2 separate regions of the Homo sapiens genome follow, and region 1 is linked to region 2. The links are contacts of gene promoters, found by promoter capture Hi-C in blood cells and fetal thymus (Javierre and others, 2016). All regions are on one chromosome and are shown on one strand. The core of a region is centred on a gene start or on the middle of the fragment in contact, and the rest is flanking DNA. Distances in the headings are between cores, read along the strand shown. Region 1 overlaps RXRG (retinoid X receptor gamma). Region 2 holds the start of LRRC52-AS1 (LRRC52 antisense RNA 1).

The links. The method cuts DNA at HindIII sites, captures the fragments that hold promoters and counts their contacts. A CHiCAGO score of 5 or more calls a contact.
Region 1: a contact is called between a fragment that was not itself captured here and the fragment with the promoter of LRRC52-AS1 in region 2, in 3 of 17 cell types (total CD8 T cells, total CD4 T cells and non-activated CD4 T cells). The highest score is 7.6, in total CD8 T cells.

Annotation. Positions count from the first base shown.
Region 1 is chr1:165,437,437-165,442,197 of GRCh38, forward strand. The region is part of intron 1 of RXRG (retinoid X receptor gamma); the gene reads right to left. Among named protein-coding and RNA genes, the nearest start is that of RXRG, 5.3 kb to the right of the region's middle. The HindIII fragment of the contact is 1,023 bases long and covers 2,344-3,366 here.
Region 2 is chr1:165,580,300-165,585,133 of GRCh38, forward strand. It overlaps LRRC52-AS1 (LRRC52 antisense RNA 1), which reads right to left and starts at 1,856. Exons shown (of 7, transcript NR_026744.2): 1 at 1,056-1,856. It also overlaps the pseudogene RPS2P10. The HindIII fragment of the contact is 5,029 bases long and covers 1-3,658 here.

The DNA.
Region 1 (4,761 bases), core at 1,605-4,104, 140 kb before region 2:
CCTGAGAACAGATAATGTTCTGAATATTACCCAATGGTAACATGGGACTAGGAATATAGTTCGCTGTATTTTAAGAGACTGCCGTCTTTAGAAGACAATCTATAGAGATTGCCCTGTTCAGATAGAGAGAGCCTATCTGAACAAGAAATCCAGAGACAGTAATGGACAGAGGTCATGGATTCAAGAGCTGGGTGTGCACATAATTGATGTTCAAGGACTTTAGGAACGAGAGGAGAACTGGGGGCACCCTCATTGGCATCTGCTTCAAACACTCATTGACATCTGCCTCCATGGACTAACTGGTACATGATGTACCAGTATACGGAATTGGCTTAAAGGGACAGCCAGCCGGTCCTCGTTAGCAGGATCCCCTGGAGCCTCTCATTTGTTAGAGATGGCATAATATCCATCTGTACTAGCAAGGTCTATAATTTGGTGCTGGCTGGGAAAGGTGGTGTGCAAGCAAAATGTCATTCATTATATGCAGAAATGTTCACAGAAATTCTGCTAGACTAGACTCAAATTCTAGATCTATAATAATTTGCAGCAGGCCTTAAAAGGGCCACTTTATCACTCTAAACCTCAGTTTCCTAATCTGTCTAATGGGAATAATTTCCGCCTTACGGACTACACTGTCAGTTTGAAGTTTGAATGAAATAGACGGTGGCCTCCAGGAGGGGCCCCTCTATCTGTTGTGCTGAGATTGACTCAGCCCTGGCTCAGCGATCCTCAGAAAAAAAGTGAAAATACAGGTTGAGTATCCCTAATCCAAGCCTCTAAAATCTGAAATGCTTCAAAATCCAGAACTTTTTGAATGCCAATATCATGCTCAAAGGAAATGCTAATTGGAGCATTTTGGATTTCAGATTTTTGGATTATAGATGCTCAATTGGTAAGTATAAGGCAAATATTCCAAAATAAAAAAAAAATCCCAAATCCAAAACACTTCTGGTGTTAAGCATTTTGGATAAGGGATACTTAACTTGCATCAACTCATTTCATAACTACAACACCACTTTAAGGTCCGTAGTTTTATTATCCCCATTATATGGGGATTAAGCACACGGCTTGGCACAGAATAGACACTCACCAAATATTTTTTGACAGATAACCCAATGATTGGTATGGAAATAAATAGCACATATTCATAAAGAGTTTTAGGAATGTAAGGCATTATCTAGCAGACGGAATAAACTTGGACCCAGGGGCCAGAAGACCTGCTGTTTTTGCCTATATGGCCTTGGGCAAGTCTCTCAACCTCTCTTCTATAAAATGAGGTGGTTCTTCAAGTTCTAAAAGTCTGATTTCTAAACAAAAACAACCAACATGGTCTTATTAATTTACAACATAATTAATTCAGAGTGGTGACTAAACTGGTCATGGTATAAACTAGTTTGTATTTGTTCATTCACAAAATAATAATAAAAAAGGTTTGTTAAGCAAATAAGATGGTAGAAATGTTAAGCCTATTTAAGATACATATGTTTTCAAGCAATTTAAAAAGCATAGAAGGAGCACATTGGCATATTAACGGGGTGTTAATTACAAAAGAATCTTTTAAAGCAGGTTTTCTAAAATCCCCACTGAGTAACCATTAGCTTGTGGTACTTGAAACACAAACTGTTCACATGTGTTACTTAGAAGTAATAAAATTGTAATTTAAAAGTAATCTGCCAACTTGTCACGAATTTAGACTGATTTTTCTCTCAATTGATCCAAATGAGTGAGGTTTTGCTATAATTATATATAATGCTGGTAATAATGAGGCTGATTATCAATCTTTCCCTGCTTTTCACTACCTCCATCATTACAGATTTTAGGGGAGGGGGGCGGGGGTGGAGGAAGATGGGAGGAGTGGGAGCGAGGGGAGGAGGGGGGTGGAGGAGAGGGAGAGAGGCAGGGATGCCACTCTCTCCCTCCCCCTTCCTTCAAGCACCGGAAGCAACCCCAGCTCCCACCCTGAGCAGCTCATCAGCCCTTCTCTGGGGGCTACATGAATCCAGGTGGAACTGCCCTGTGCGGCTTCGAAAGGCTAGCCAGCTGGTCCGAACTGGGGTTGCGTGAAGCATGCAGCAGCGTCAACCCATCAGCTAATGCATGCTTTCATTCTCACATTCCCACTGAGAGGCTGAGAGGCCTGAGCCTCTGGGGGCAGAAGGAGGGCCTCTTCTACATGCTCTCCACTCTCCAACACATTCCTTGATTTTTCCCCACTGAGGAAGCCAGAAAGGGCTTCCATAGCAGAGAAGGTTTCCTTCCCATCAGAAGAAAGCTTCTCTCTGCTCCCCATTCACTGGAAATTTAATGTCTAACATCTTGTTTTCTACATCGGTTAAAATGTAAAGCTTTGCACCAGTAAAACAGTTATAAAATACCTTCCCATTCCATCTCAGGGTGATTGTGCAGCCTAAATGTTTATAGGAAAGTCCCCTTGAATATGCTGATAATAATTCAAATATAAGAAATGCATATTAGCTAATCCCTGGTGTCTGAGTGGCTGTTATGTGGAAAGAGGAGGGAGAAGAAGATTAGGCTGGGCTGGGAGCCCTGAGGAAGGGAACCCAAACTAGGGGTTGAATTGTGAAGAGATAGAGTCAAGATGTGGAGTGTTCTAGTGAGAAAGGCCAGGGTCAAAATCCTGGGAGAGGCCAAGTATTGAATTGGGAAGGGGCAGGAAGGTCTGTGCTGGGTAACTGCTGTAAGAATTTACAGAGTAGTACAGTATAGTACATGGTAGAGCTGGGATTAAAATCCAGATCTGCTGCTTTTCCTCATATTCAAATGCCACTTTTATCATTTATTAGCCAAGTTCCCTTTGGCAAATTATTAATTTCTCTGTCCCCCAGTTTTTACATCTGTATAATGGGGGTAATAAAACTACCGACCTTAAAGTGGTGTTTTAGTTATGAAACGAGTTGATACAGGTTAAGTATCTCTTATCCAAAATGCTTAGCACCAGAAGTGTTTTGGATTTAGGATTTTTTTTTATTTTGGAATATTTGCATTATACTTACCAATTGAGCATCTATAATCCAGAAATCTGAAATCCAAAATGCTCCAACGAGCATTTCCTTTGAGCATCATTTTGGCATTCAAAAAGTTCTGGATTTTGAAGCATTTCAGATTTTAGATGCTTGGATTAGGGATACTCAACCTGTATTTTCACTTTTTTCTGAGGATCACTGAGCCAGGGCTGAGTCAATCTCATGAGAGCCACCAAAGCCCATGCATTCTAGAAAATTAACTTCATTCCCTGGGCCTCTGTGTCTTCTACTTTTAAAAAGAGGAGAAAACACCAGCTTCCTCTGGGAGCCCCTGGCACACCCGCGATCCAATGCTGGTGGCTAAGTTCTCTGCAGACCTAGAAGCTTCATAATGAGGGGAAGGAAGAGGTGGGGCATTTAGATTCTCTTTGCACAATTTCTTCCCCCAGTTGCTATTCAGCTCTCTATCTCTTGGTGAGATTGTAAATGTTTTAGAAAATAGTTTATACGAAATATGTTCCTTCCTAAATCTCATAAACAGTTACTCCTTTCCACATAAACCTTAACCACTTATGCCCATGATAGGTTCCAATTAGCCACCCACATATCTGTGGAGGGGAAAAATATGTTCTAGCATATACACACATGTGCACACGCACACATACAAGCAGGTCCAACTCAACCCCTTCTCTATGGCTATTTTCAAGTGAAAGCAACTATTCTACATGAATGGTCAGGGTCAGTTGGACAGGACTCTTGCAAATAAGTATGTACCCAAGGGAAGCCACCAATTAATTCTGCAGAGATCACCGTTGCTCTTAACCTATCCCATGGCTTATTCCTCAATGGCCAGTCCACTGGGTCTGCAACAACCAGTCAGTGCTGAGGCTGCATATCTGAGGTTGTATTGGAGCACCGGGAGCTCCCTGGGGGTGTGCTGCTGCCCCTGGCTTTGCAGAGCAACTGTGTCACTCACAGAAGCTGTGAGAGGCAGCTCAGCAGTGTGAACTCTGGGAGCTAGTCTGCCTGGGTTCAATCCCTGGCTGTGCCATTTTCTAGCTATAAGACCTTAAGCAAGTTATTTCACCTCTCAATTCCTCTGTTTCTTTGTCTCTAAAAGGAGTACGAGAACAATGGTAACAGTACCTACTCCTAGGGTTGTTATGAGGATTACATGAGCCGAGGCTGGTAAAGTGCTTACAATAGTAGCGAGCATTAGTGTTACAGTGTGTTTGTTAAATGAAATGAGAGAAGTCCTCTCTCTCCCTGATCTCCTTCTCACCCTGAGGATTACTGCACAATTGGATGGGGGGGATTACAGGCTTTGTTTTGCCATCTTCTAAGAGGCAGCAACTGTCTCATCCCAGAAAAACAAACCTATTACTGAGCAGCTGGCAAACCCTGGACTTGGCAGAGAAGGAGAAGAGAAGGTTTCTCTCATCATTACATGGTAGGGCCCAAAGCTGGGAGATTGGGCACCTTTGTGGAGCCACCACGTAGCCACCACACTTTGGCCAGTTTGAGCAATCTGTTGCTCACTGATCAGATGATGCTCTGACATCTGGTAAGCATGGTCCCAGACACAAATCTCAGGTGTTATTTCCAAAAGGTGACTTTGCTTCCCTGGAGATTCTTATACAAATCATGGGGCCCTCTGTAATTCCATGTGCTAATATGTAACAGGGCAGGGGGTTATACACCAAGTATTTTAATAAGTGCCGTGCAACTTGCTGCACTGTGGCAGGGGAGGTTAGAGGCCAAAGGTGACGTCCACTCT
Region 2 (4,834 bases), core at 606-3,105:
GAGAGACAACCAAATTCATATAAGAAATTCATTAAGAGCGATGTTAAGTGTGAACCATGTACCATCTGCATCAGAGTCACCCTAGGTGCGTCATAACAAGACAGACCCTCTGAAGCAGGGTTTGGGAATCTGAACTGTGAGCAGTCCCTCAGAGGATGCTTAGGCACTCTGAAGTCAGAGGCCCACTAGTCTGGACACTGCCTAAGGCCAGTCCATGTGCTCAGACCTCTGCATCTGCTGCTACATCTCCAGCTACCAAACTACCTAATAATCTCACATACAGAAGACTGGTCCTAAGGTGAGACAAAGTCCCAAGTCATCAGATAAAGAGGAACTTATGTTCACAATTTGTCGTGGGCTTTGGAGTGAGGCAGACTCCAATGGAAAGCCCAGTTCTCCTTCTTCCTAGCAGAGACTTTAGGGAAATTACTTAAACCCACTGAACGTCAGGGTCCTCATCTGTAAAATCCTCATAGGATGGTTGGGAGGGTGATCAGGTAGGAACCATGGCTTTCTCTAAGCTGCCTTTTATTTGCTGACTTTTGAGAGGGGACGTCTTACTCAGGCACAGTCACATGTGCCTGTAGCCCTAGCTACTTTGGAGGCCAAGGCAGGAGGATAGTTTGAGTCCAGGAGTTCAAGACTGCAGTGTGCTGTAACTGTGCCTATGAATAGCCACTGCTTAGGCAACACAGTGAAACCCCATCTCTAAAAGAAAAAAAAAAAAAGACCAGACATCTTAGAAAGATTCTTCAAATCCTAACCCTAGTTAGACATTAGACATTGAATGCCTCTCCTAGACTTGACTAATGGAGAAAAAATGCCTTTAAGTGTTTCATCTGTTTCATCTTACTCATTCCTCAGAACATTCTGCTGACATCAACAGCCTCCAGGCCTTTGCACATGCATGTCTTTCTTTATGAAATACACACACACATGCACACATGTCTCTACACCCTGCTTATTCTATAAATCCATATTCATCCTTCAACTTCTTGCTCAAGTATCACTTCTATTTTAAAATTTCCCAGACACCACAGCCTGCCCCAACTCACCCATTCTCACTGCAGTGACGGCTCCCAGAACCTGAACAAACCACAAGTCTGATCTTGCCGCACTGTGATGACTGATCTTCTGGTTTCTCCCCAACAACCATGGGTTCCCCAAAAAGCAATACTTTGTAACCCTAGCACTTGCTATCATGCCTAATGTCTAGCAAGTACGCACAATTTGTTGCGTTAATATATTCCACATGTAGCTTCTTCTCCGAGAAAACACCAAATGGCGGATGACGCCGGCGCAGCCGGCATTGGGTTGCGGGGGGAGTCCCGGAGGCCCCGGGGCCCTGGGATGGGGAACCATGGTGGCTTCCGTGGAGGTTTCGGCAGTGGCATCCGAGGCCGGGGTCACTGCCGTGGACCAGGCTGGGGCCGAAGCCACGGAGCTCGCGGAGGCAAGGCCAAGGATAAGGAGTGGATGCCCGTCAGCAAGCTGGGCTGCCTGGTCAAGCACATGAAGATCACTTCCCTGGAGGAGATCTGTCTCTTCTCCCTGCCCATCACGGAATCTGAGATCATTGATTTTTTCCTGGGGGGCCTCTCTCGAGGCCTAGGTTTTGAAGATTATGCCGGTGCAGAAGCAGACCGGAGCCGGCCAGCGAACCAGGTTCAAGGCGTTTGTGGCCATTGCGGGCTACAACGGTCACGTCGGTCTGGGTGTTAAGTGCTCCAAGGAGGTGGCCACTGCCATCCACAGGGCCATCATCCTGGCCTAGCTCTCCATTGTCCCCATGCGCAGAGGTTACTAGGGGAACAAGATCGGCAAGCCCTACACCATCCGTTGCAAGGTGACGGGCTGCTGCGGCTCCGTGCTCGTGCGCCTCATCCGCGTGCCCAGAGGCACCGGTATCGTCTCGGCGCCTGTGCCCAAGAAGTTGCTCATGATGGCTGGTATCGATGACTGCTACACCTCAGCCAGGGGCTGCACTGCCACTCTGAGCAACTTCGCCAAGGCCACCTTTGATGCCATCTCTAAGACCTACAGCTACCTGACCCCTGACCTCTGGAGGACGGCTGTATTCACCAAGTGTCCCTATCAAGAATTCACTGACCACCTCGCCAAGACCCACACCAGAGTCTCCGTGCAGAGGACCCAGGCTCCAGCTGTAGCTACAACATAGGGTTTTTATACAAGAAAAAGAAAGTTAATTAAGCCTGTAAAATATACATACATATATGTGTGTGTATATATACATATTATATATGTATATATGTGTGTGTATATACATTATATATATGTATATATGTGTGTATATATACATATATACGTATATATGTGTGTATATATACATATATACGTATATATGTGTGTATATATACATATATACGTATATGTGTCTATATACATATATACGTATATGTGTGTGTATACATATATACGTATGTATGTGTGTATACATATATACGTATGTGTGTGTATACATATATACGTATGTATGTGTGTATACATCTATACGTATGTATGTGTGTGTATACATCTATACGTATGTATGTGTGTATACATATATACGTGTATACGTATACACATATGTATATGTGTATACATATACACATATATGTGTATGTATGTGTATACATATACACATATATGTGTATGTATGTGTATACATATACACATATATGTGTATGTATGTGTATACATATACACATATATGTGTATGTATGTGTATACATATACACATATATGTGTATGTATGTGTATACATATACACATATATGTGTATGTATGTGTATACATATACACATATATGTGTATGTATGTGTATACATATACACATATATGTGTATGTATGTGTATATGTATGTATATATACACATATACATACATGCATGTATATATGTATGTATATGTATACATATATACATACATTGTATATACGTATACATATACACACATATATGTATATACGTATACATATACACACATATATGTATATACGTATACATATACACACATACATACATATATACACATACATACATATATACACATACATACATACATATATGTATATGTGTATATATACATATATGTGTATATATTCCAACTGTAAAATATACATATATGTGTGTATATATATATTCCACCTGTAATATATATATACATTCCACCTGTAAAATATAAAATTATGACACTGATTTTTAAAGTGTTATATAACTTACTCATACTGTTGTTTTCAAAAGCCAGCTTAAGCCAGAGGGGGAAAAAAAATAATCACACTAGTTTGGTCTTCTCTTTTAATCTGAATCAGAATTACTTGGCTTTATCCCCTACCTAATTCATTAGATGTGGCTCTGAATTGTAGAATCCACCTCATAAGCGGAAGATTTGCCGCCATGAAGAATATTAAGAAGACTCCCTCTGACTTCAGAGGCAATTCAAGTCAGTGCAATGAACACTAAGCTAAGTACTGAAATTCTACAAAAAGGATCCTTCCAAAAACACAGCCTCTCTGATGGAACCAGAGCTCTCCTCCAAAGGTGCTAACTTCTTGTTAGGCTGGCAGGCTCTTCCCCAGACCGTCTCTTGGTGTGTGTGTTTTTACCATAATTCTAACACAAAGAGTAAGAGTCCCATTTCTACCCGTGGGTGCTACCCAAGCTTACCTCGCTGCCCCAAGCCCAAAGTGTCTCCTTTATGGATCACTGCCCATGCCCTTCCCCGTGCCTGAGTTTAGCTTTACATTCAAGCCATTGATGGTAATTTCTCAAAATTCTACTCAATTAATAGCTACCATTTACTGAGTGACTCTGTGCCAGATACCCTATTAGAGGTTTTATAGACACTCTAGAAACTTATATCTCAAACAACTTATGACCAAGTGTTATAAGTATCCTCATACACAAGTAACTGAGTAAGTGATGGAACCAGGTGTGACTCCAAAGCTCATGTTAACTGTGGAGGTATACATCTTCCACTAGCTCATTAAATATTCACTTAGTACTCTATGGACGTAGTGTTATTATCTTATTTTACAGATGAGGAAACCAAAGTATAGCAAGGTCATTAGACTTCTCATACTAGTTCCAAATTATTTGAGCCCCTCCAGTTACTCATAGCTCTTTAGGCACATATTTGCCAGCTCTGTGCTGGCAAATATCTTGCCAACATAGACAAAATTGCAGCCAACCAGGAAGAGGCCAGTCTGAGAAGTGAAGACAGTTGGACCCTCAAGACACAATCAAGCCTTACTAATATATCTATGATCTTCTCAGTCACATGAGGAATTAAATTGCCACTTTTACTTTAGTTTGACTTGGCTATAGTCTGAGTGTTTATGTTGAAATCCTAATCTTCAAGGTTATGGTATTAGGAGGTAGGACCTTTGGAGAGGTGATTAGGTCATGGCATAGAGCCCTCATTAATAGGATTAGTGCCCTTATAAAAGAGGCCTGATCTGCCATGTGAAGACACAACAAATAGGTGCCATCTATGAACCATAAAACAAGCCCTTACCGGACACCAATCTGCCTTCACCTTGATCTTGGATTTCCCAGCTTCCATTAATAGGGAGAAATAAATTTCTGTTGGTTATAAGCCACCTGGTCTATGGTATTTTGTTATAGCAGCTTAGATTAAAATAACTTCACTTTTTAACTGTTGCTTACAACCCAAAGAGTCCTATTTAAGACAAAAATGAACACCTGCAAGGTGAAACAATAAAATAATGTGGATGACTCTTTTAAAACTCACATACCAAGGTGTATTCATCCAAATGACAGCAGTTCCTTTCGAAGTAGTTATCTTAAGGAAAATGAAGTTGCAAGTAAGTAGG